Linked DNA regions of Homo sapiens: regions 1, 3, 4, 5, 6 and 7 are each linked to region 2. The links are contacts of gene promoters, found by promoter capture Hi-C in blood cells and fetal thymus (Javierre and others, 2016). All regions are on one chromosome and are shown on one strand. The core of a region is centred on a gene start or on the middle of the fragment in contact, and the rest is flanking DNA. Distances in the headings are between cores, read along the strand shown.

The links. Contacts are between HindIII fragments. The CHiCAGO score rates a contact against its expected background, and 5 or more counts as called.
Region 1: a contact is called between a fragment that was not itself captured here and the fragment with the promoter of SOS2 in region 2, in 9 of 17 cell types (non-activated CD4 T cells, fetal thymus, activated CD4 T cells and 6 more). The highest score is 9.9, in non-activated CD4 T cells.
Region 3: a contact is called between a fragment that was not itself captured here and the fragment with the promoter of SOS2 in region 2, in 1 of 17 cell types (total B cells). The highest score is 5.2, in total B cells.
Region 4: a fragment that was not itself captured here is called in contact with the fragment with the promoter of SOS2 in region 2 in 9 of 17 cell types (fetal thymus, erythroblasts, non-activated CD4 T cells and 6 more); the score reaches 8.7 in fetal thymus.
Region 5: a contact is called between a fragment that was not itself captured here and the fragment with the promoter of SOS2 in region 2, in 3 of 17 cell types (total B cells, naive CD8 T cells and naive CD4 T cells). The highest score is 7.2, in total B cells.
Region 6: a fragment that was not itself captured here is called in contact with the fragment with the promoter of SOS2 in region 2 in 1 of 17 cell types (total CD8 T cells); the score reaches 5.4 in total CD8 T cells.
Region 7: a contact is called between a fragment that was not itself captured here and the fragment with the promoter of SOS2 in region 2, in 9 of 17 cell types (total B cells, naive B cells, activated CD4 T cells and 6 more). The highest score is 9.8, in total B cells.

What each region holds. Positions count from the first base shown.
Region 1 is chr14:49,769,916-49,772,749 of GRCh38, forward strand. KLHDC2 (kelch domain containing 2) reads left to right here. Exons shown (of 13, transcript NM_014315.3): 2 at 1,679-1,758. Among named protein-coding and RNA genes, the nearest start is that of KLHDC2, 3.2 kb to the left of the region's middle. The HindIII fragment of the contact is 1,618 bases long and covers 563-2,180 here.
Region 2 is chr14:50,230,017-50,232,932 of GRCh38, forward strand. SOS2 (SOS Ras/Rho guanine nucleotide exchange factor 2) reads right to left here and starts at 1,562. Exons shown (of 23, transcript NM_006939.4): 1 at 1,181-1,562. The coding sequence starts at 1,267. RefSeq lists a silencer at 1,154-2,233 and an enhancer at 2,384-2,473. The HindIII fragment of the contact is 6,352 bases long and covers 1-2,441 here.
Region 3 is chr14:49,786,796-49,789,700 of GRCh38, forward strand. It overlaps NEMF (nuclear export mediator factor), which reads right to left. Exons shown (of 33, transcript NM_004713.6): 27 at 2,701-2,778; 28 at 2,351-2,548. Among named protein-coding and RNA genes, the nearest start is that of KLHDC2, 20 kb to the left of the region's middle. The HindIII fragment of the contact is 580 bases long and covers 1,119-1,698 here.
Region 4 is chr14:49,863,697-49,866,464 of GRCh38, forward strand. It overlaps LOC105378179 (a long non-coding RNA gene), which reads right to left. Exons shown (of 3, transcript XR_943839.3): 2 at 1-753. Among named protein-coding and RNA genes, the nearest start is that of NEMF, 12 kb to the left of the region's middle. The HindIII fragment of the contact is 1,296 bases long and covers 823-2,118 here.
Region 5 is chr14:49,819,562-49,822,432 of GRCh38, forward strand. All of the region lies in intron 16 of NEMF (nuclear export mediator factor), which reads right to left. Among named protein-coding and RNA genes, the nearest start is that of NEMF, 32 kb to the right of the region's middle. RefSeq lists an enhancer at 2,095-2,827. The HindIII fragment of the contact is 6,022 bases long and covers 1-2,871 here.
Region 6 is chr14:49,727,466-49,730,256 of GRCh38, forward strand. It overlaps KLHDC1 (kelch domain containing 1), which reads left to right. Exons shown (of 13, transcript NM_172193.3): 7 at 1,461-1,544; 8 at 2,025-2,083. Among named protein-coding and RNA genes, the nearest start is that of KLHDC1, 36 kb to the left of the region's middle. The HindIII fragment of the contact is 2,662 bases long and covers 1-2,598 here.
Region 7 is chr14:49,844,710-49,847,409 of GRCh38, forward strand. It overlaps NEMF (nuclear export mediator factor), which reads right to left. Exons shown (of 33, transcript NM_004713.6): 4 at 1,431-1,556. Among named protein-coding and RNA genes, the nearest start is that of NEMF, 6.7 kb to the right of the region's middle. The HindIII fragment of the contact is 733 bases long and covers 897-1,629 here.

The sequences.
Region 1 (2,834 bases), core at 122-2,621, 460 kb before region 2:
TGGGCAACAAGAAGGAAACTGTCTCAAAAATACTTTAGAAAGGGGTAGAGAATTGCAAGAAGGGGGGCGGGGGGGCAAGCATGTAGTCACCCTTATAAAAATGTAAATTAATTCCCCTGGAGAAACCTGTCAATGACACTTCTAAGCTACCTAATTCATAATTGTATTTTTAAAATGACAGCATGAGAGAATAAGACTTTGGGAGTGGGGCAGGGGAGGATTCTTAGTGTGGAATATTTCTTGTGGATTTAAAAGGGCCTGGATGATTGGGGCCGATTCAGGGAGGAGCAGCACAATCACTGAATTGGATGGTTCTGAAACAGACTGCCCTCCCCATTTATGGCTGGTGGCTGGAACCCTGAGGGTAGGCACAGAAGTCCTTGGAGATTGTTTCAAAGGCAATAAACCTTGGCTTCCTACATAGTAGGCAGTTTTCCTCCCCAGGACAGGCTGGTCCCCTGTGGGTCAGCCCGCTTCCAGCCTTTCCCTTCATCACTGGTGGGGTGGAAAAAGAAGTTGTTTTACGTGGTCAACTGTTCTGTTTCTGTATGTTTAATATTCAAGCTTGCTGGACTTTGACACCCATTTTTGGCTAACCGCAGTCGTTTACTGTGTCAACATTGTTCAGAAAGTGGCTAGGGAGGGTCAAAGGCTGGGAATGTCAGGCAGTTGTTAAAGTTCAGGGAAAGGATAGAATCCTGGCTCCATCATTACTTCATAAATAACCTTGGGCAAATTACTTAAACTCTAAACTTGTTTTCTCATAACATCAGCTACTTTTTAGGGTTGTTGTGAGGATTAAATAAAGCAATCCATGGATAGCTTTCAGCTGTGGCATATGGTAGGCTCAGTCTGTGTTAGGAATTAATACCTGAAGGGAAATGGAGCAGAACAAAGAACTTAAAATTCTGCATAAGGATTTAATATTTTGCATATTTGCAGTTCTGCCCTCTCTATTGCTGCTTAGAGAATGGATAGGTGAAAGGAAGGCATGGCTAGAAAACCACGCATCGTGTTAGCGTGGATCAGGCACTTTCAGTAACAGCCTGCTGACCATGGCACAGGCAGTCTCCTGAAGTCATGCAGCTGAAATTTGGTGCATGGTTCTGTTCAGGATAAAGCTGCCTTAGAGAGTTCCCAGAGATCTCTTGGCTGGGCACAATGGCTCACAGCCTGTAATCCCAGCACTTTGGGAGGCTGAGGTGGGTGGATTGCTTGAGGTTGGGAGTTTGAGACCAGCCTGGCCAACATGGTGAAACCCTGTCTCTACTAAAAATACAAAAATTAGCCAGGCGTGATGGCGAGTGCGTGCAGTCCCAGCTACTTAGGAGGCTGAGGCAGGAGAATCACTTGAACCCAGGAGGTGGACATTGCAGTGAGCCAGCCAAGATTGCGCCACTGCACTCCATCCTGAGCAATAGAGACTTGGACTAAAAAAAAAAAAGTTCCCAGAGATCTCTTCTTGTCCTATTGCAACTGCTGTATCAAAATTCTGAATTAAGAGCTATCTATGTTGAGCTTTACCTTGAGTGTGTGGCATGGGTGGGGGAGGATTGTGCACTGTAATACCTATTTTTCATACTAATTATGAAATTAGTATCTCAAGATCGATTTAAAAAATACAGTAGTGCCTCTTTAAAATACCAGTTTTTATATTTACAATTTTTTTTATTCTTAGAGTAATCAAGTCAGAGGATTATATGACTTTTATCTGCCTAGAGAAGAACTATGGATCTACAACATGGAGACTGGAAGATGGTAAATGTGGATATTATAAGGGGGACTAAAAAATTCAGATAAGGGCTGGGCACGGTGGCTGGCTCATGCCTATAATCCCAGCACTTTGGGAGGCCAACGCGGGCGGATCTCTCGAGGTCAAGAGTTCAACACCAGGCTGGGGTGAAACCCCATCTCTATTAAAAATACAAAAATTAGCCAGGCATGGTGGCGTGCTAATTCCAGCTACTTGGGAGTCCGAGGTGGGAGAATCGCTTGAATCTGGGAGGCGGAGGTTGCAGTGAGCTGAGATCGAGCCACTGCACTCCAGTCTGGGTGACAGAGCAAAACTGTCTCCAAAAACAAACAAATCAGATATGGCTGCAAAGAAAAAAATGTAAAACACTTTCTAAGCTACTTATATATTCTAAAAACACTGTTCTGCTACTTTAGCTTAGCTGCTAAGCTTAATTTAGCACCTGTTCTGTAGTTACTAGATACTTTTATGAACTTAGAATAAATTTCTATCTCAAGTATCATAGTAATATTTAAAATAGATGTAGAGGCTTCAGATCCAGAATGGAAAAATAAGTGTTCCATTTTTTTCAAGATGTTAAGTCTTCTGTTATATGATCTCTTGAATAAGGAAAGGAATTTATAAATGGTTAAATTGTTAGATTTTAGATTGTATAGAATTTTATCTGCTAAAAATAAAGGTGGTATTCTATTTTAATAAGCTCTCAAAATTTGCATGCAAATCTTTTTAAAAATAGTGTTGTTCTGTTTAAAAACCAAAATGACCTCCAGTTTGCCCTTTTTGTAAACTGGAGATAATCTGAAATGATCTTTTGCAGTTTCATAACAGTAGTAGTCAAGAGCATGTCCCTGGTAGAATCAAGGTGTTTCTCAAAATGCTGGGTTAGCCATGGTTGCGGATTTACAAAGTAGTTTTCCCCATGGTGTGCTTTGTGAGAACTTTATGCTTTAAATATTTTACTTACTGTAGATCTCAGAATTAGCGTAGTAGTCCCACTTAACAGTTAGGCTGGATGCTGTGGCTCACGCCTGTAATCCCAGCACTTTGGGAGGCCGAGGCAGGCAGCTCACCTTAGGTGAGG
Region 2 (2,916 bases), core at 312-2,811:
GCTGCCACTAGTCATTTCTGCCAGGTTCTTTAAAAAGATACGACTTAGTGTTTGCCCTGAGGAAAGCAATACTTCCTTGTAAGAATTATGAAAATAAGGGAAAATCTGCAACTCTCATCGCATGAGGAAAATGTCTTTAACTTTAAAATACACTACTTCCTTTCATTTATAGAAATTTAATGTCTGAGGATATATTTTCCAAGTATAGTCTTTTAAATTAATCTTTATTTTTTCCTTATTTTAGAATGTATTCTTGGTTATTTTGCACAAAAGGCAGAAGAGACTAAGTCTGCATTAACGGCAAAGAAAGAAAGCCCCTGCTCAACAGGCATGACAGCTGATCACGCACCTATTCACAGTCTTTAAATGTCTTGATCTTACAGAAGGATTTATTATAAAAATGATCGTATGGTTACTACCTAAATTCACAGAGGAAGACCGCCACCATCTACAGGAAAGATGCACCCTAGCAATGCACCCAAACATGAAAGACTGATTTGCAGGAGTTGCCCCTTTCTTGTTCCTTAAAATGATTTCAAGTCCTAAATCGCAATTTGGTCGTGAAGACACTGAAGACACTGACCAAATTTTCTAAGGGTAATCTCTTGTAAACAGGTAAGACACCGTTTGCAGGAAGTGGGAAGGCGCTTTAAATTTACCTTGAGAACTGTAAAATGAATAAGAATATTATGACTCACTGACATTTCACACATGTGAAACATCCATATTACAAAAAACCATTGCCTCATAAGTGGATACCCTTGACAAGCAAACCGCCTAGGGGGAACACTCCCAAAGAACTTAATTAAAAGTAATTACCCGGCCTGAAAATGTGCTTTTGTTTTAGAAACTGTCTAAATACCAGCGGGACTTTCTCTTGCCCGATTCCAGCCTGAGGACAACAAATTGGTCAACGGCGGAAGTTGCCTGACGAAATGACTGCAACATGAAATCCAGTTTTATGATCATAACAAAACCTTCCTTCCGGGACCAGGCAAAAAAAAAAAACTTGAGAAACGTCCTTCAGAATGCAACAGGCAATTGTGAGCCCCCCATTGCCAGCCAACGAGAAACGGCTCGGCCCCGGGGACTCGAGCCCTGTGGGAGGGACGACCTGCTCCCCGTTAGAAGCTCGGGGGGCCACGGGCCACCCGCCGGCCGCCCCGCCCCTAGCACTGACCTTCCGCAGGGCCGAGACCAACAGTCCCCGCCATTTCGGACTGTTCTCCTCGCTGAAGAACTCGTAAGGCTGCGGCGCCTGCTGCATGGCCCCGGCGACAGCGCCTCCGCATCGGGGGCAGCCCGCGGGCCGGGCCGGTGGCCTGACAGGCAGGGCGCGGGCCGCCTCGCCTCGCCGGCGGCCGCCGCCTCCCGCCCGGGCCGAGGCTACGGCCGAGGCGGCTCGGAGGCGGCGCCGGCGGGCTGGCGGAGACCCCGGGGTCGGCTTCCTCCGCCGAGGCGGCCCTCGCCTCCCGCAGCGCCCGCAGAGGAAGCGCGGCGACCCGCAAGCCCGGGCGACCCCGGGCGGCGACCTCCTTTCCCGGCGGCGCTGGCCCGCTTCTGGGGCGGCTCCTCCTCCTTTGTCTGGGTTCGCGGCCCGTCAGGGGTACAGCTGGCCCAGCCCCGCCCCGACTCCCGCTACGGCCGCGGCGGGCGGTGAGCAGCGGCGGCGGCGGCGGCGGCTGCTCGTCTCCTCATCGCCTCCTCCCCGCCCTCCCAGCCGACAGCGCCGCCCGGCCCTGCCCACTCGAGTCACCTCCACAGAGCTCTGGGGACCGACCCGGAGTGCGCGTCGGGCGAGCGAGCCTCGCTATGGCGCGCACAGCGCTGGCCGCCGTTGCTGCCCCTTTAGCAGCAGCGCAGAGTGCCTTGGGGTCGCCGCTGAGCCCTGAGTCCCAGCAGCCGAGGCTCGGCCCGCCCCCTCGGCCCGGCGCTCATTATCCCGAATAGCCCAAGAGGCCTAACACGGAGCATGCGCGCCGCGGAGCAGGCACAGGCGCCAGCCCGGCGCGGGGGTGCGGGGCCTGGGGCCCCGGGGGAGTCCGCTTTTCCCGAGACTGTGCTGGGGGCCGCTCCAGACTCTTCAGTTTGACTGCTTTTTACCCATATGCTCCCTCCTCTCGACCTGCTTAAGACAATCCGGACTCGGTGCCACTCTTGTAGCGCTGGAGCCCCAGGACTACCGTCGTGGGAGGCTGCATAGGGACGTGGAGAGAAAGGGGCATTCGGGCTGGACAGGATATTTAACGTATTTGTGCTCTACGTGGCTTGTTTTCATGAGTACCGTATGTTTACACAAAGTAGGTACTATATATAATATATCGTTAGGAGATACAGTAACTATTTCTTAGGGTGATGGTGTGGGGACCGAGAGATGAGGCGTGGAAAGCCCTTAGCCTGGTGGTAGGGTCAGAAGGGGCAGATGACAGTGACGTTGATCAAGCTTGAATTGAAAGGTCCTTCACTTGCACGGGCCCCTGTGCGTTCACAAAATCATATCGTTTTTACAAAACTTTCAAGATATTTTCGAATTGTTTTCTTAATCGTGTCATCCAAATTGTGTAGGCTTCAGGTCCTACAAAACCTGGATCGGCGTCTAGGAAACACTCATTAGCAACCCAGAAAAGATCCTGACAAGCTTTTCAATCCAAAGAGGCATAGGCTCTGGTAACTCATTACCACAAATTTCATCCCACTAAAGAGGCTGAGCACATTACTTTTAACAGGTTGTAAAGAAGATATTTTACTCCCTGTCCCTAGCCACCAGCAGTGAGAAAGGGAAAAGACGAACAGGGTACAAAAAATAAGTCAGTACTACAATTCAGTTCCGGCATCAGTAGCTGAGCAATTATTCTCCCCAAAACATGCACCACTTTTTCATTTGGGCAAAATCAGAATGGCAGAGTTGGAAAATAA
Region 3 (2,905 bases), core at 159-2,658, 440 kb before region 2:
TGAAAATTCCACATCATTAAACCATAAGGAGAAAGAAACAGTGATACAACCAGACTGTCATTTCTGACCCACAGGATAGGGGGCCTCAAGGTTATATTCTTCCTAAGACTCTGAAGTGGATTCGTATATGTGTTTGTGTGTGTCTGTTTTATTACTTAAGAAAGTAATGTCATTCAAGAGAAGAAGGGTAGTTCTCTGAAGTAGAGGAGGTGGGAACTGAAACTTTCATATAAAGTATATGTTAAAGCAGCAAAAGTTACAAGTACAATTTAAAATGACAACTAAGGTTGATAAGTTTGCCAGGAGAAAAGCAAATGGAGAATTTTGGTCAACAGAACTTTTATTTTTAAATATCTGTTCAACAGTTTTGGATAAATTTTTCCCATATCCCATAAAATATGCTTAATTTTGTTTGCTTAAGAAAAATCTATCTGGAGATAACTGACTGTCTCAGTCTGTTCAGGCTGCTGTAACAAAATACCTTAGCCTGTATAATTTAGAAACAACAGAAATTTTACTTCTTACAGTTCTGAAGGCTGGGAAGTCCAGCATCAAGGCACCAGCAGATTCAATGTCTGATAAGGGCTTGCCTCAAAGATGGTACCTTAGGCTGGGTGTGGTGGCTCATACCTGTAATCCCAGCACTTTGGGAGGCCAAGGTCGGGGGATCCCTTGAGCCCAGGAGTTCGACACCAGCCTGGGCAACACAGGGAGACCTCATCTTAAAAAAAGATGGCACCTTATTGCAGTGTCCTCACGTGGCAAAAGGGCACTCATCTCATTCATGACAGAAGAGCCCTCGTGACTTCACTTCCTAAAGGCCCAACCTCTTAATACCATCACACTGGGTATTTAGGTTCCCATATATGAATTGTGGGGGGATATTAACATTTAGACCATAGCACCTACTCATGAAAGAACATTAATAATTAACACCTCTAGTGAGTATTTGTGAGTCTAGGATTTACAGAACATAAGGATATTGTACAAATTTTAAAAGCCAAAACGAGTTTTAGTATTACTAAACAACAACTGTTCAGCAGGAAAAAAAAGAAAATAGTAATACAGAATCCCTGTAAGCATTACCTGCACTAAACTGAGCACACAATTATAACTCAAGCTTTACATAAAAAAAATGCTGGTGACAAAGGTAAAAATTTTTTATCTGGCCTCTATTTTAAGCCGTTATTAAAAAATAAACAGGCTGGGCATGTGTCTTACGCCTGTAATCCCAACACTTTGGGAGGCCAAGGCAGGCGGATCACCTGAGATCAGGAGTTCAAGACCAGCCTGGCCAACATGGTGAAACCCCATCACCACTAAAAATACAAAAATAAGCCAGGCGTGATGGTGCATGCTTGTAATCCCAGCTACTCAGAAGGCTGAGGCCGGATAATTGCTTGAATCCGGGAGGTGGAGGTTGCAGTGAGCTGAGATTGTGCCACTGCACTCCAGCCTGGGCAACAGAGCAAGACTGCCTCAAAAAAAAAAAAAAAAAAAATTCAAGAAGAGGTACATATTCATGTAAGAAGATATACAGAAGGCTGGGCTTGCTGTACTGTTAATAAAACAATTAGGCAATCATCTTAGCTGGAAAAATACGAACTCACTGGTTTTGTAACCAGAGTACTTGGCTCTTAAATGGTGTACTCATTTTCAACATTATGTACGACCATATGGCATAGATTCCTATAGAAAAGCTTAGAGAAAGTGAAAATTTATTTTCTACACATCTTCAAGACAATCCCAATTTTCTCTCTCTCTTTTTTTTTTTTTTTTTGAGATGGAGTCTCGCTCTGTCGCCCAGGCTGGAGTGCAGTGGCACAATCTCGGCTCACTGCAAGCTCTGCCTCCCAGGTTCACGCTATTCTGCCTCAGCCTCCCAAGTAGCTGAGACTACAGGCGCTCACCACCACACCCGGCTAATTTTTTTGTATTTTTTTAGTAGAGACAGGGTTTCACCACGTTAGCCAGCATGGTCTCAATCTCCTGACCTTGTGATCTGCCTGCCTTGGCCTCTCAAAGTGCTGGGATTACAGGCGTGAGCCACCGTGCCAGGCCTCTCTGTCTTAATTTAATTCAGTTCCCATCAGAATCAAAGCCTCTCCTTAAAACTGATTACTTCCTAAAGGCTTGTAACAAAATTGTTATCAGCTATCAGTACTACCATTATCATGCTTAGATAAGATACTGCAATTTTAGTCTTTCAGGTTGTATTTCTGGATGACATTCCATTAAGAATAGGGTTACTCACTTGTCTTGGTTTTAGCACTGAAAGTCCCATGTCCTGGGAACTCCAGGATGGGTAATCACCCTAATTAAGAAGCAGAAGCCCACAAAGTAGCCATACCTTGTCATCATGTGGATCATCTACAGCAAAGTCTTGTAACTCATGAGTTATAACCTCAAGGAACGGAGTTTCTTTCTTAATGTTGTCAGAGACCCTCTGTCCACCTCTAGGTTTCTGGGGCTGTTTCTTCACAGGTTCGTCCTTTGTTTTTCCTTTCTTCCCCTTCTTCCCTTTTTCTTCTTTGTTTGAACCTGCAGACTTTAATTCATAGAGGAAACATCAGTCAGTGTTGTATTTTCAATACTGTGAATATTTTAACAAGAATGTATTGAATGCCTGTCATACGCTAGGCAGTGGGCTAGATGCCCATTTGAAAAGCAAAAGAAAAAATGTTTTTAGATGTTATTTACCCCCAGCAACTTCATGATAAGTTCACGGTCTTCTTCATCCTGGTCTTTGTATTTTTCTTTCATTTTTTTCATTTTACTCTACAAAATCAGAAGATTTTGGTTGGAAATATTCAGCAGCAAAAAAATGTCAACAAATACTTGCAAAGAAATGGTGTTACTTTATATTCTCTGTCAAAAATGCTTACTGAATAAGGCACCATTATAA
Region 4 (2,768 bases), core at 221-2,720, 370 kb before region 2:
AACGTTGCTCCTTCCTTCATGGATAAATTGAAGGCCAACAGACAAAAACTTTTCAACTCTTTGCTGCTCTGTCCGCTCTAAATTTATCTTTACACCTTCAGAGAAGAGCACCCTTCTGTTTTCCCCTCCTACCTCAAACCCAGTAGGTCAAAATTCTTCCATCAATCATTTTTACCCATTCTATCTCTCTCTTTCATTTATACAGATTCCAAGCTGCCTTTCTTCTAAAAAAAAAAAAAAAAAAAAAGTAAAAAAACTCCTTTGACCTTGCCTTTCTAAATGAAATCTGTCTGTTGTTTTCATGGCTGCACTTCTTGAAACCATGTTCTACAATTGCTACATTTGCTTCTTAACCTTCTGTCTTCAGTCCATAGCCCACCAATCCACTGAAACTATTCTAGCTAAGGCTACGATACCCAAGCCTCCTAATTGGCAGGTCTAAGGGACCCTTTCTGACATAGGTGATGTAATTTACCACCAATCTCTGTCACTTGTGACTGCTGTTTCCTCCCTGAACGTTTCTTCTCCCTGGTTCTTGTTCACAGCCCCTGATATTTCCTCCCAGGCTCTCTCTTCTGCCCACCCAGCAAATGTTTTTGTTCCTTACAGTTCCCTCCTAAATGTTCTCTGTTCTCTCACCGTGTTCTTCATGAGTGATGTAATAAATTCTCAAGGCTCTCAAATCTGTAGTTCCAATCTGATGCTGTTTCCAGAGCTTCAGATTCACATTTTTAGTTGCCTTCTGGATGTCACCTTGAAATCATTCAAAACTTCAAATTCAGTATTTGCAAACAAAACTGATCATCTTCTCTTCTTCCTCCAAGCTTACCCATTTTTTCTTTTTATCAATATGTTTATTTATTTATTTTTTGAGACAGAGTCTTGCTCCGTTGCCCAGGCTGGAGTGCAGTGGCACGATCTCGGCTCACTGCAACCTCCGCTTCCTGGGTTCAAGTGATTCTCCTGCCTCAGCCTCCTCAGTAGCTGGGATTACAGGTGCCCACCACCGCACCCAGCTAATTTTTGTATTTTCAGTAAAGATGGGGTTTCACAATGTTGGCCAGGCTGGTCTTGAACTCCTGACCTCATGATCCACCTGCCTCGGCCTCCCAAAGTGCTGGGATTACAGGCGTGAGCCACTGTGCCTGGCTCATCAGTATGTTTAGTTGCTCACTTCAGAACTCTCAGAGTCATCCTTGACTACTATTTCATCCATTCAATACCAAATACTTACTTTTTACTTATCCAGTGACAGGCACTGTACTAGGTGGTAGAGATGTGGTGGTGAAGAAAAGAGACAGAGTGGAAGAGACAGACAAAAACTTAGCAAAAAAAATTATAATTTCAAACTGTGATAAGTACCGGTGAAGGAAGCACAGTACTGAGATATGAACAATGGTGGTAGGAAGCAGGTGGGGCACCTGCTTTTGAGAATGTAGTCAGGTAAGCCTCTTTTAGGAGGTATCATTTAAATTAGGGCCTGAAGAATGAGGCATCGGTTAAGGTACATTGAAGCAAACAAGGACTGTCTGTAAACTGAAGTAAACGAACCTCTCTTTAGGAAATTCAGAAGAAAGAAAATTATCTCGAGGAAGTTGGTCAGAAGAAAATGGGCAGATCATGAAATGTTAGTTGTCCCCCAAAGTCGGTTCTCCCCTTTTACAGTGCTAATACATTGCTACTTGGGCACATGAATCCCAGCTAGAGACCACATTGCCTGAATTTCCTTACAACCAAGTGTGGTCAAGTTCTCACTAATGGAATATGAATGAAAGTTGTATGTGTCCTCTGCATCACTTGCTTAAAAAGAAATCGGTTGCCCTCTACTTTGGCCCTCTTGGCCTTTCCAGCGCTAGGTGGCGCCAGTGCAGATCCACTGCAGTGCCCCACCTTTAACCATGCAAATTAGGAAAAATACCTAGGGTCGAGGAAAGAAACCAGTGAATGCAGAAGGGGCAGGATTGGAAAACAAAACAAAACAAAACAAAACAAAAAAAAAAAAACAACCAAACCAAACCAAAATAAAACCAAAACAGCAGAGTCCATGGATGAATTAATGAAGCTGATCCACCCTATAGCCTCCACCACTCCTACCTCTGGACTGTTAGATGAGAAATAAGCTTCCATCTTAATTCAATCACTATATTTTGGGGTCTCTTTATTATTACAGCATACTCTGTACTCTAACTAATAGAGGGAGGTTCCCAGAAGAAAATCCTGGATAAGCAGAACTCAGAGCAGGAACCAAAAGAGCTCCAGGTATCTACAGGGCACCCCAATGGGATGAACCATCCTCAGTATCCTCTAAGAAGAGTCTGATTTTCTAGTTTGAGTTCTGTATTCTTCTACAATCTGTATTTATATGCATACCTATTTTTATTTTTGTTATTTATTTATTTTTTGAGACGAAGTTTCGCTCCGCTTGCCCAAGCCAGAGTGCAATGGTGTGATCTCAGCTCATTGCAACCTCCGCCTCCTGGGTTCAAGTGATTCTCCTGCCTCAGCCTCCAGAGCAGCTGGGATTACAGGCACGTGCCACCATGCCCAGCTAATTTTTTGTATTTTTAGTAGAAACGGGGTTTCACCATGTTAGCCAGGCTGGTCTCGAACTCCTGATCTTAGGTGATCCACCCGCCTCAGCCTCCCAAAGTGCTGGGCTTACAGGCATGAGCCACCACGCCCGGCCATGCATACCTATTTTTATTATAATTATGTTGTAAATAAAACATCTGTGTCTTGCTTTTCTTTCCCACATGTTACTATGTTTT
Region 5 (2,871 bases), core at 18-2,517, 410 kb before region 2:
GCACAACCACACCTAGCTAATTTTTGTATTTTTGTAGAGACGGGGTTTCGCCATGTTGCCCAGGCTGGTCTCGAACTCCTCACCTCAGGTTATCTGCCCGCCTATGGTCTCCCAAAGTGCTGGGATTACAGGCGTGAGCCACCGCACCTAGCCTATCCCTGTCTTTATAGAAACATTGTGAAAAGGAGAGAGTTCTGAATGTTGATGTCCCTGAGGTAGAGCAATTGCATGTACCCAAAATCTGTGTGTTTTCATTTGTGAGCATCTAGTCCAGTGCCCTCCCTTCACTTGCTCTGAGGGTGTAGGATGTTGTGATACCCATTAGCTAATTACCTTTGGGAAATGATTTCAGAGGATTAGAATGCCACTTCAGCCACCCATTTTTTTTTTTTGTTTTTGTTTTTTTCTGAGACAGAGTCTCACTCTGTTGCCCAGACTGGAGTGCAGAGGCGCCATCTTGGCTCACTGCAACCTCCGCCTCCCAGGTTCAAGCGATTCTTCTGCCTCAGCCACCCGAGTAGCTTGGTCTACAGGCACAAGCCACCACACCTGGCTAATTTTTGTATTTTTAGTAGAAACGGGGGTTCACCTTATTGGCCAGGCTGGTCTCAAACTCCTGATCTTGTCATCTGCCCGCCTCGGCCTCCCAAAGTGCTGGGATAACAGGCATGAGCCACTGTGGCTGGCCCCCATTTCCTTTTGACAGCAGGCAAGTGTCTGTGTGTTTGTTGAAATGACACATTTGATCCTTTTTATGGCTCAAAGAAAAGTTAATGAATACCTTTTGAGTTTGGTGCCATGACAGAGTCATTCCTCAAACCTGTCAGCACTTACGCGTTGTCCTCTGGTCACTGCATGACTTCGCTGAAGTTCCTTACCCTCTCCGTTTCAGATTCTGAAAGTATTGTATCAAGAGCTAATAATCGGCTGGGCGCGGTGGCTCATGCCTATAATCCCGGCACTTTGGAAGGCCGAGGAGGGTGGATCACTTGAGGTCAGGAGTTCGAGACTAGCCTGGCCAATATGGTGAAATCCATCTCTACAAAAAGTACAAAATCCCCTCTCCCCTCTCTCCTCCCCCTTCCACGGTCTCCCTCTCATGCCGAGCCAAAGCTGGACTGTGCTGCTGCCATCTCGGCTCACTGCAACCTCCCTGCCTGATTCTCCTGCCTCAGCCTGCCGAGTGCCTGCGATTGCAGGTGCGTGCCGCCACGCCTGACTGGTTTTCGTATTTTTTTGGTGGAGATGGGGTTTCGCTGTGTTGGCCGGGCTGGTCTCCAGCTCCTAACCACGAGTGATCCGCCAGCCTCGGCATCCCAAGGTGCCGGGATTGCAGACGGAGTCTCGTTAACTCAGTGCTCCCCACCTGGGAAGTGAGGAGCGCCTCTTCCCGGCCGCCATCCCATCTAGGAAGTGAGGAGCGTCTCTGCCCGGCCGCCCATCATCTGAGATGTGGGGAGCACCTCTGCCCCGCCGCCCCGTCTGGGATGTGAGGAGCACCTCGGCCCGGCCGCGACCCCGTCTGGGAGGTGAGGAGCGTCTCTGCCCGGCCGCCCCGTCTGAGAAGTGAGGAGCCCCTCCGCCCGGCTGCCACCCCGTCTGGGAAGTGAGGAGCGTCTCCGCCCGGCAGCCACCACGCCCGGGAGGGAGGTGGGGGGGTCAGCCCCCGCCAGGCCAGCCGCCCCGTCCGGGAGGGAGGTGGGGGGCTCAGCCCCCCGCCCGGCCAGCCGCCCCGTCCGGGAGGGAGGTGGGGGGGGTCAGCCCCCCGCCCGGCCAGCCGCCCCGTCCGGGAGGGAGGTGGGGGGGGTCAGCCCCCCGCCCGGCCAGCCGCCCCGTCCGGGAGGGAGGTGGGAGGCTCAGCCCCCCGCCCGGCCAGCCGCCCCGTCCGGGAGGGAGGTGGGGGGGTCAGCCCCCCGCCCAGTCAGCCGCCCCGTCCAGGAGGTGAGGGGTGCCTCTGCCCGGCCGCCCCTACTGGGAAGTGAGGAGCCCCTCTGCCCGGCCAGCCGCCCCGTCCGGGAGGGAGGTGGGGGGGTCAGCCCCCCGCCCGGCCAGCTGCCCCGTCCGGGAGGGAGGTGGGGGGCTCAGCCCCCCGCCCGGCCAGCCGCCCCGTCCGGGAGGGAGGTGGGGGGCTCAGCCCCCCGCCCGGCCAGCCGCCCCGTCCAGGAGGTGAGGGGCGCCTCTGCCCGGCCGCCCCTACTGGGAAGTGAGGAGCCCCTCTGCCCAGCCACCACCCCGTCTGGGAGGAGGTACCCAACAGCTCATTGAGAATGGGCCATGATGACAATGGCGGTTTTGTGGAATAGAAAAGGGGGCAAGGTGGGGAAAAGATTGAGAAATTGGATGGTTGCTGTGTCTGTGTAGAAAGTAGTAGACATGGGAGACTTTTCATTTTGTTCTGTACTAAGAAAAATTCTTCTGCCTTGGGATCCTGTTGATCTATGACCTTACCCCCAACCCTGTGCTCTCTGAAACATGTGCTGTGTCCACTCAGGGTTAAATGGATTAAGGGCGGTGCAAGATGTGCTTTGTTAAACAGATGCTTGAAGGCAGCATGCTCGTTGAGAGTCATCACCACTCCCCAATCTCAAGTACCTAGGGACACAAACACTCTGCCTAGGAAAACCAGAGACCTTTGTTCACTTGTTTGCCTGCTGACCTTCCCTCCGCTGTTGTCCTATGACCCTGCCAAATCCCCCTCTGCGAGAAACACCCAAGAATGATCAATAAAAAAAAATAAAATAAAATAAAAATAAAAGAATGATGCACATTTTAATAAAAAAAAAAAAGAGGAAAAAAAAAAAGTACAAAAGTTAGCCGGGCATGGTGGCGCACACCTGTAGTCCCAGCTACTTGGGAGGCTGAGGCAGGAGA
Region 6 (2,791 bases), core at 18-2,517, 500 kb before region 2:
CTACTAATACACATATATGACCAGAATTCCTTACAGTCCAACTTCTGTTCATGGAAATGATGGGAAGGTCTATACAAAATCGTAAGTATTAGAGTTTGGCCATTCTCTGGATTCTCTTTTTCCAGGCAATAAATTTCAGATTTCCAGTACTCTTCTATTCTCTTCTATATAGTAGAAGAATTCTTCCAAAATTTCAGATCAAGCCTGGGGTAATAATAAAAATTTTGTTTTGCTGGAAGGGCTGGGAACCAAAATTCTTAAGTGGTTCTCATTTAAGTGTTATATAGGTAATATCTGAATTATGTCTTACCAAGTTGACCTCAGCACAGTTATTCAAATAAGCCTGAAAAGTTTAGGAAGTTATGATATTGGATGCAGAGCTTTAATTTCCTATACCCACTTTGAGTAGCCAGTGAGCTGAAAATGTCAGGTTCTTTCAGAACTTGGAATTAAAATACATACATAAAGGCACCCACCATGAAAATATGGAAATTATGCAGAAGATTTTTCCCTCAAACCTTATTCATTCATCTACCCATGATACTCACTTTTTCCACCAATTAAAAACCTCCCTAGGGTGGCGTAATGGCTCACGCCTGTAATCTCAGCACTTTGGGAGGTTGAGGCAGGCAGATCGCTCGAGGCCAGGAGGTTTGAGACCAGCCTGGACAGCAGAGCGAAACCTCATCTCTACTAAAAATACAAAAATTAGCCGGGCCTGGTGTTGCACACCTGTAATCCCAGCTACTGGGGAGGTTGAGGCAGGAGAATCGCATAAACCCGGGAGGTGGAGGTGGCAGTGAGCCGAGATTGTGCCATTGCACTCAAGCCTTGGCAACAGAGCAAGACTCTGCCTTGAAACAAAAAACAAAACTTCTCTAAAGAAAAGGTCTGCTATATTTATTCAAAATAAAGTGTAGAGAAGTGTTATCAATTAATGTTAAGAGTTTTAGTAAGAGAGAGAGCACTGTCTGGCTTAAGCCAAGAGTGAACTTCTTATTGTAAATTTGAGGCACCAAGAGTTTTGGGGCCATTTTTAATTTTACAGAGTTTCTGAGATAATCGCAATATGCACTGCTCACTTCTAATGGGAACTCTGTGTGTGTGAAAGAGAAACAGAGGAGAGAGGGAGAGAGAGAACATTTTAAAATTTGATTTTAAAATCTTTATACAGTATTTCAAACAAAAATTTACATGAAACCTTATTTTGCTAAATAGTGTCAGACATATAAGAAAAACATTTTCAAAAGTAAAGATCAGGGAGAATAAAATGTATTCTGACAAATAGTATTTGTCTACAATTAGTACTATTTAGAATAAACTTTTGCATTAGCGTTTTTAATTGAATTACATAGGTAATGATAACTTAGTGATTAAGACTTTCACATACTGAGCATAGGAATGTAACTTTATTACAGATATTTCAAGTCTTTGCAGTCTGTTCTGATTTCTACTTGCAGGGTGGAGTTCCACCACAGCCACGAGCCGCGCATACATGTGCAGTTCTTGGAAATAAGGGTTATATCTTTGGCGGACGTGTTCTGGTTAGTGTTTTTAATGGAAATGGTATTTTTATGTGCAATGCTCCTTATAAAAATTTATCCTCTGATTTCGTGGAATAATTGAACATTCATGTAATCTAGAGATTAAAATGGCATTCAATACTAATTTTATTTATCTTCTAATTCATAAACAGACCATACATGAACAATCATAGATGATTATAAATCATATTTTAATGAGGAGAATCTTTCAGTGCAGTATCAGAAAAAATTAATTTCTTGTCATCTAAAGCCTGTGAATTTAAACCTATTTCTTCCTATTTTTTCCTTTCCCCTTTGACACATTGATTTGGGAGCTCTGTGTCAGTCTTATTAATGCTTAGCATTGTTTTCCAATAGTTAAACATCTTATGTGAAGTAAAATAGAGATAGTCTATTTTTAATCTGAACTTACTTTAAAAGAAAAATTTTAGCTGATAAAAGATGTGAAATACTGACCAATGTAACACACTTTTCTTTTAGCAAACTAGGATGAATGATTTGCACTATCTAAACCTAGACACCTGGACTTGGTCTGGAAGGTAAGTTTGAAGTCTAAGTACGTTTTAATCTATAGGCATGTGTATGTGTCTGTATGTCACCATAATCCAAATGTGAGTCTTTAAAACTGGACTGGTATTTTTTTCCTTCAGATCGTATGTCTAAGCAAGGACTATATAGATTTAAATAGAGTTTGTTCCTTAACCAGACAAGATAAAACATGAAAATACTAACAGTTGAAATTAGATTATATAAAAGTACTGGTTTTATACTAAGTAGTTTTTGAGGATTGATCAGTAGAAGAAATGAAGAAGTGGTTGAATGGGGTCATCTCAGGTGAACAGGTAATGGAGTAAAGTCGGATTTTATTTGTAGCTCATAATATGTATTTAACAATAGAACAAATATATTTAGCTATCAACTTAGCAATTTGTATAATGAGATGGAATCAGAGCTATATATTATTCCAAAGTATAAGTACCATTAAATACCATAAAACCATGAAAGTCTCAGAAGAAAATATAGCAGATTATCTTTAAAATGTTGGCATGGAGAAAGCTTTGTAAAGATGATATGAACTCAAAATTCATAAATGAAAAGACTGATCGATAAGACTACTTAAAAATTAAATATTTCTCTGTAGAAAAATGTACCACAAAAAATTAAATGGCAAATTGTAAAATGCAAACAAAAAACTGGAAACAATATTTGCAGGTTTTTTTTTTTTTTTTTTTGAGACAGAGTCTTGC
Region 7 (2,700 bases), core at 13-2,512, 390 kb before region 2:
TACATACACACGCACGCGCACGCGCGCGCACACACACACACACACACACACACACATATATTTTTTTTTTCCTTTTTGAGACTGAATCTCACTCTGTCACCTGAGCTGGAGTACAATGGCATGATCTCAGCTCACTGCAACCACTGCCTCCCAGGTTCAAGTGATTCTCCTGCCTCAGCCTCCCGAGTAGCTGGGACTACAGGCACGCACCACCACACCAGGCTAATTTTTGTATTTTTAGTAGAGATGCAGTTTTGCCACATTGGGCAGGCTGGTCTCAAACTCCTGACCTCAGGTGATCCACTCGCCTTGGCCTCCCAAAGTGCTGGGATTACAGGTGTGAGCCACCACACCTGGCCCAGATTAAGTTAGTTAGTTAGTTAGTTAGTTAGTTTATTTTTGAGACAAAGTCTTGCTCCGTTGCCCAGGCTGGAGCACAGTGACACAATCTGAGCTCACTGGAACCTCTGCCTCCCAGGTTCAAGTGATTCTCCTGCCTCAGCCTCCCGAGTAGCTGGGATTATAGGTGCCCGCCACCACGCCCAGCTAATTTTTGTATTTTTTAATAGAGACGGGGTTTTGCCATGTTGGCCAGGCTGGTCTTGAACTCCTGACCCCAGGTGATCTGACCCCAGGTGATCCGCCCTCCTCGGCCTCCCAAAATGCTAGGATTACAGGTGTGAGCCACTGTGCCCGGCCTGAGTCATTGCGCTCAGCCAAATTTATTTTTAAGATGTTTTTCTTTCTTCAATAATAAATTAACCTTTGCTTCCTGGAACTTTTTTACTTTATAAACTTTAAACTTTTTAGCTTTTTGACTCTTGTAATAACACTTAGCTTAAAACACATATCGTACAGCTGTACAATACTTTCTTTCTTTAGATCCATATTCTCTAAGCTTTTTTTCCATTTTAAATTGTTTTGTTTTTACTTTTAATGTTTTTGTTAAAAACTAACACACAAACTCACACACCAGCCTAGGCCTACACAGAGTCAGGATCAAGATGTCACTAAGCAGTAAGAATTTATTAGATCCATTACAATGTTACAGGACCAACGTTTATATGCAGTCTGTTGTTGACTGAAACATCACTATACATACAGCGCATCAGTGCATGACCGTATTTGACTATTTTCTGGTTGCATATTAGTCCTGAAATGTCAAGTACCAAATAATTTACTTCTCAGATCTTCATCTCCTACATTCATAAGGCTATTCTAAATGGCTAAAGTCTGCCTAAACTCAGACCTACAGATAAAATGAAGGTTATTACTGGAAAATTTTATTTTATTTGTGTGGCACCCATTTCCTAGGGTAGTAACAACCTTTGACACAGAAAAAAAATGTTCCCCCACTCATGTTATATAGCACTATTACAAAATGATTAATAAGAAATTTTCCTTCACCATATCCCACAAATTTAACTTACCCTATCATAGAGCTCAATGATTAAATGGTAAGCAGCTTCATCACTTCCAAATTGAAAATCTACAATTCTATCCACACCAAGCTGTTTTGCACTGACTAATCTCCGACTCTTCAAATGTTTTCGGCACTAGCAAGAGAAAGAAAAAGGCATTCATTTAGTAAAAGTGAATTCCTAACCATTTGGTATTGGTTTATAAATAAGCTTCTTTTCATTATCATCAGGAATATTTAAAACGTTGTGAATAACAGTATAGTCATAAAGTAATAGATTGCAGATGATAATCAGAGGGAAAACATTTTATTATAAACACTAACTCTGAAACAGTGTTTTATTTGCATTTTTTTAAGACAGGGTCTCACTCTGTCACCCAAACTGGAGCCCAGTGGTGTGATCATGGCTCGCTGCAGCCTCGACTTCCCTGGCTCAGGTGATCCTCCTGCATCAGCCTCCTGAGGATTGGGACCACAGGCACATGCCACTATCCCCAGCTAATTTTTTCATTATTTGTAGAGACAGGGTCTCACTATGTTGCCCAGGCTAATCTCAAACTCCTGGGCACAAGCAATCCTCCTGCCTTGGCCTCCCAAAGTGCTGGGATTACAAGCGTAAGCTACTGAGCCAGGCTTTTATTTTCAATTTTTAAGTAGAGAATGATGGACCTATAGCAAAATTTGCTTTGTTGCTTTATACCACTGCTAAATTCCTTGTTGTGGTCCTAATGACCTCACTCATAAGCCACAACCTTTATTTATTTACTTTATTTTGAGAGAGAGTCTCGCTCTGTCGCCCAGACTGGAATGCAGTGGCACAGTCTCAGCTCACTGCAACCTCCGCCTCCCAGGTTCAAGTGATTCTCCTGCCTCAGCCTCCTGAGTAGCTGAAATTACAGGCGTGTGCCACCACACCCGGCTAATTTTTCTATTTTTAGTAGAGACGGGGTTTCACCATGTTGGTCAGGCTGGTCTCGAAGTTCTGACCTCGTGATCCGCCCACCTCAGCCTCCCAAAGTGCTGGGATTACAGGCATGAGCCACTGTGCCCAGCCAACCTTTACTTATTTATTTATTTATTTATTTATTTGGAGACGGAGTCTCACTTTGTCACCCAGGCTGGAGTACAGTAGCACAATCTTGGCTCACTGCAACTTCTGCCTCCCAGGTTCAAGCAATCCTCCTGCCTCACCCTCCCAAGAGTAGCTGGGACTACAGGCGCCCACTACCACGCCTGGCTAATTTTTTGTATTTTAGTAGAGACGGGGTTTCTCCACGTTG